Regions from separate parts of the Homo sapiens genome. Here region 1 is linked to region 2. Evidence: promoter capture Hi-C in human tissues and cell types (Jung and others, 2019). All regions are on one chromosome and are shown on one strand. Each heading gives the region's core, a stretch centred on a gene start or on the middle of the fragment in contact. The rest is flanking DNA. Distances are from core to core; before and after follow the strand shown. Region 1 overlaps LOC105375199 (a long non-coding RNA gene). Region 2 holds the start of HOXA1 (homeobox A1).

Region 1 (2,832 bases), core at 183-2,682, 1.1 Mb before region 2:
CTTATGTTTCATCTCCCAAATTTACAAAGATTTGATTTGGTTTATGGTAAACTTTTTTTTTTTTTTTTAGACAGAGTCTTGCTCTGTCACCCAGGCTGGAGTGCAATGGCCCTATCTCTGCTCACTGCAAGCTCTGCCTCCTGGGTTCACGCCATTCTCCTGCCTCAGCCTCCCAAGTAGCTCGAACTACAGGTGCCTGCCACCGCGCCTGGCTAATTTTTTTGTATTTTTAGTAGACACGGGGTTTCACCATGCTAACCAGGATGGTCTCGATCTCCTGACCTCATGATCTGCCCGCCTCAGCCTCCCAAAGTGCTGGGATTACAGGCATGAGCCACCATGCCCGGCCTGTTTATGGTAAACTTTTTAAAGAAAAGTAAGTACTTCTCTTAACAATATGCTGCATAAAAGATTAATTATTTTTTCTTACCACAGGATGCAATTTTAGAATCCGAGAAACTATTCTACCCTTTAAATCTTCAAGAATCCAGAAAGGGGAAAAAAAGAATAGGGAGAGGAGGTGGGAGAAGAGAGAAGCCAGTGTCAGATGGGCAGGCTCGGACCACGGACTTGGACTTAAAGAACATGGCAGCTGACAACTGCAAACTATTTTCTATTTTCCTTCTCCTTGAAATGATAAGTGGGCAGGGAAAGAAAAAGGGAGGATGATACAATTTTGATTGGGTAATAAAGGCAATAGTGAGATTAATTTTTAGGCATTACCAAATGCCTAGTAATAAAACCTGTGTCTCTCAGCACCAAGAAGCAGGTTTTTCTTTTTTTTTTGCTGGTGTATAAATACCATAAGAATTTTAATTTCTTCTTTTAAAAAATATATTATGTAGCTGAGGCTTAATTAGCAGATGTATAAATGATCATGGAAAACTTGCAGCACCTGAAATGACATTTTACTAATTTGAAAATATATTGTCTCCAGTCATTATTTACAGAAAAACAAAAACTTTGTTGCTTTTGTCTTGCAAAACTTTCAGGTCTGTAAGCATATCCTGAATTAATTCATTATAACCATATATGTAAGAGACTAACAAGCCCATTACTCAAATTTTGTGAATCAGAAAATGTTACCCAGAGAAACGGTATGTATGTAATAAAAAATACTAGAATTTGACATACAATTTTAATGGTTGGCTCTTTCTCATTGAGATTTCACACCAAAAATGGATGACAAACTAGGATCTGAGTCAAAGCACAGATGTCCGGGGATGTCAGCCAGCAGGGAGGTGGCCAACTTTATGACACGGATCTTCTGAGGATCAATGAATCTTAGGTCACTAGTATGATCACTATCATACACTTCACAAATACAAAAATACTCTCAAAAAATTCTGTGGTTGCAAACATTTTTGTGGAAATTATAACTTTCGGTTCTTGCTTATTGCCATCGTTTTTATAAAATAAAATATTATTCTATATTCGCAGACATTTAAACTACTGAGCGAGACTGCTGACAGTACTCTCAAATATTGCCAAACTTGAGTAGACACAAGCAAAACAAGCCAGGAGAGTCGAAGTTGGATAAAGTAAAACTAAAGATGCTTCAATATAGAGAATCACTGGAATCTCTCCAATGCCAGATGAAAAATACCTAAGTATGAATGAGCAGCTTTTGTCTTGTAAGTTAGTTTTATACCTCTTTCTGTCATTTGAATGACTTAATCATTCATAAAGAATAGATCAATCAGCAGGAAAGTTTGAAGAAAAGAGAATCCCAGAGACAAATGCTAGGTGTGTTCATCCTAACCCTTTGAGAAACAGCTACCCAAGGGCAGCCAGCCAACCTTCATATTTCAGTATGTGGGTTTTGCCATCAAGTAATCTGCGGGGGTTGGAGATTTGAACCTCCCATCTTCAAACTGCTACCTATGGTGGGGCTTTTATTGGCCCCTCTATACCTCAATATCATCATCTGTAAAATAGGAATAATAATAGTTCCCATCACATAGGCTAGTTGTGGGGATGAAATGAGATACCATAACCTAAGTGTATTAGAATGGTGCTTGGCATGTGGTCAGCACTTAATAATATCAGCTATTATTATTACAATTCCTGTATAGTTATTTCAACATCAAATGTTGCTTTTGAAAAAATACAATCTAAGTATTGCATTTGAATGCTTCACACAGTTGAATATTAAGTTAAAATCATTAGAGTTTAATTTTTTAAATGATGCTCTCCTGTGGGGCCACTGAGTCTCTTGAGCATACAACACCACCACCACCACCCAACCCTTTCCCTGGTGGATTTCATGGAATCTGAAAGACAGAAATAGAACACAGCTGCTATATGTAAGTTGGGGAGGCCAAGGAAGCAACATACCTACTGTGGCAGACACACCCTAAGGTGACCTCCAATGAGTCACACCATGTATAAGCCCCTCCTCTTCAGGACGGGAAGAACCTGTGACTATATGTCACTGCCATCATTGGAAAGAGAGAGAGAGTAAGCAAGAAAGAGAGCAAGAGAAAGAGCGTATGAGCAACTCCATCTGGAGTCAGAGAGAGACAGACTCTCTCCTGAGCCTTGAAGAAGCAAACTTGCACATTGTGAGCCACCCATGGAGAGGGCCTGGAGGCAGGGACCTGTGGGCTCCTCCCGCTGAGAGCCAGGACGAAGCCAGGACCGTCCATCAAGCAGTACCGAGAAGCTGAATTGTTCCAACAACTTGCATGAGCTTAGAAGCCGATTCTTCCCTAGACCCTCCAGATGAGAACACATTCAAGGCCACACTTTGATTGTGGCCTTGTGAGACTGAGTAGGGGACCCTGTTAAGCCATGCCTGGACTCCTGGCCCACAGAAACTATGAGATAATC
Region 2 (2,700 bases), core at 193-2,692:
GGAGAGATGGGCAAGAGACCCTCCTTCTCACGTTTCTTTTGCTTCATTCGGCGGTTCTGGAACCAGATCTTCACTTGGGTCTCGTTGAGCTGCAGGGATGCAGCGATCTCCACCCTGCGGGCGCGCGTCAGGTACTTGTTGAAGTGGAACTCCTTCTCCAGTTCCGTGAGCTGCTTGGTAGTGAAGTTGGTGCGCACCGCGTTGGGTTGACCCAGGTAGCCGTACTCTCCAACTTTCCCTGGGGCAAAGTGGGAAGCCATGAGACGGAAATGTAAAAATTTTTAAATCGACTTGAGATTCCCCACACGCTTCATGGCAACACTCAGGTAAAGAAAAGATCAAGAACTCAGCACAAATCGGGCTGTGGAGGGTGAGTGATGAGGTGTAAAGTGTTAACCTGATGTAAACCATTAGCATGGTCAGACCGGTGATTAATGGAGCCTCAAGATATTAACAGAACACTACCGTCACAATAACCACCCCCACATACTTCCTATTTCCCAAATGTATAAAATCCTTGAAAACACACCAATCCCTGAGACTTCTTTGCCCCAACACCTCTGGGCACCCTCTCCATGCACTACAACACTAGTCTGATACAAAAGCCTTTTAAAAAAAAGATCATTATTAATTTCCTTGGAAATTAAGCATACCAGCTCCTTCCAGAATAATCAAGGAGCATCCACCAACCAGCAGGACTGACCTGTTTTGGGAGGGTTTCTTTTGACTTTCATCCAGTCAAAAGTCTGCGCTGGAGAAGATGTCTCCGATGCGGGGGAGCGACAGGCTTCTTGGTGGCTGGCGTGGAGAGGGGACAAGGAGTTATTATACGTAGCCAGGGCCAGGCTCTGGTGCTCCTGTCCATATGAGTGGTGAATGTATTGAGGCGAGCCCACCGCGCCCCCAGCATAACCCTGGTGGTGGTGGTGATGCTGGACCATGGGAGATGAGAGATTTCCAGAGTAAACAGCGGGAGCGCACTGGGGGTACCCACCACTTACGTCTGCTTCCTGATTTAACGCGTAGGGGCTGTAAGGCGCACTGAAGTTCTGTGAGCCATAGCTTGGACCACAACTTGAGTGGGAGTAGGACACCCCCAGGTTCCCGGAAGTCTGGTAGGTAGCCGGCTGGGGGTGGCGATGGTGGTGGTGGTGGTGGTGGTGGGGCGAACCGATCTGCACCCCCCTGCCCACTAGGAAGCGGTCGTCGCCGCCGCAACTGTTGGCGCTGACCGCGCACGACTGGAAAGTTGTAATCCTATGGTCCGAGGGGTAGGCTCGGGCTGAGCAGGTCCCCGAGTCGCCACTGCTAAGTATGGGGTATTCCAGGAAGGAGTTCATTCTTGCATTGTCCATCTGTCACTGAGTGACCTGGTCCTGCGAAGCCCGGCGTGACTGTGCCAACTTTCTCACTTCCTCCATGGGGCCGGAGAAGAAAAATGATATGAATGTACAGTGCGCAAGAGGGGGGGCGGGAGGGCGGAGGACGCTGGAGGAGGGGCACGTGACGGTGTCAGCCAATGGCTGAGCCTCCTGCAAAAGTTTGCCGGCTTCCGCAGTGATGGATCACCGTTTTAGTGGCATTTAAATCCCCGGCGCTCCGCCGTCTAGGTGACGCGCAGTCGCCCCCCCAGGCAGCCTAGGCGGCGGCAGCTGCTGCGGCGACTGCAAAGGCCGATTTGGAGTGCTGGAGCGAAGAAGAGCAAAAGCTGCGTTCTGCGCGCGCCCGACTCCGCTGCCCGCCCCGCCAGGCCTCCGGGAGGTGGGGGCTGGGAGGCGTCCCCCGCTCCCGCCCCCTCCCCACCGTTCAATGAAAGATGAACTGGCGAGAGGTGAGAAGGGAAGAGGGCTCCCGGCTCTCTCGGGGCGGGAATCAGTGGGCCAGAGCTCGCCGGGTGGCCGCAAGTACGCCGGCCCAGCCCGCAGCGCGCCCAGCCGGAAGGCGGGGAATCCGGCTGACACCGCGCCCCGGGTTCCCAGGCCACCTCCTCTGTTCTGAGGCTGGGCTGGGAGACCGTGGGGCTGTGAGGAGCGCATAGAACCGTGGTGGAGGGCGAGGCTGGGCCACCGGCTCTTCAAGCTCGGAATGGAGGGGGAAGAGCGCAGAGGGCTGGCTGGGAGGAACTCGGGTGGGCGTGAAGGAGACGAGGGCAAGAAAAGAAACTTCCCTTCTTCCAGGAGGGTCTTCGAAACCCTCTCCCCACAGCCCCTCTCGTCATTAGCATGGCAATGAGGAGTTTCTGTAATTCGACTTGGAGGGGCGGATGAGCCCTGGAAACTCAGAGCTCGCCGGAAAAGGCCGGGGGCGGCCGGGCTCTTCTTCCCCACCTTCCCTCTCTCGTCGCTCTCCGCCCCTTTCTCTTTCCCACTCAGTTTTGCACCGGGAGCCCTCCGGGATGCGGAGCTACTCGACCGCCGGATTTTTAGGGGTAGGAGGCGGGGGAGAGAGATGACGCTGGCGGACGTGGCCAGCGCGGGGGCCGGGCGGTGCGCTGCAGGCCATCTGCCGGCGCCCTGAGACCCAGGAGCCTCCGCGCTCCCGCGTGGGCCTCACAGGGCCGGTCCACAGCTCCAACATAGTAGCTGAACTCCCTTCGTTGCGTTCCTCTTTTTCTGGAGGGGAATGTTAGAAGAGAGAGAGAGCTTCCTTTTATAACCTTCCTCATTCTGCTGCACGTCTAGAGTGGGTGTGGGGGCTGGC

Evidence for each region. Contacts are between HindIII fragments. The study calls those that stand out against the background at their distance.
Region 1: a fragment that was not itself captured here is called in contact with the fragment with the promoter of HOXA1 in region 2 in 1 of the 25 tissues and cell types used here (dorsolateral prefrontal cortex).

The regions. Positions count from the first base shown.
Region 1 is chr7:25,977,446-25,980,277 of GRCh38, forward strand. All of the region lies in intron 6 of LOC105375199 (a long non-coding RNA gene), which reads right to left. Among named protein-coding and RNA genes, the nearest start is that of MIR148A, 29 kb to the left of the region's middle. The HindIII fragment of the contact is 7,060 bases long and covers 1-2,832 here.
Region 2 is chr7:27,094,558-27,097,257 of GRCh38, forward strand. It overlaps HOXA1 (homeobox A1), which reads right to left and starts at 1,443. Exons shown (of 2, transcript NM_005522.5): 1 at 704-1,443; 2 at 1-238. The coding sequence starts at 1,355. HOTAIRM1 (HOXA transcript antisense RNA, myeloid-specific 1) reads left to right here and starts at 1,537. Exons shown (of 2, transcript NR_038367.1): 1 at 1,537-1,831. RefSeq lists enhancers at 1-30, 31-531, 1,413-1,707, 1,833-2,405 and a silencer at 1,760-1,929. The HindIII fragment of the contact is 6,318 bases long and covers 1-2,700 here.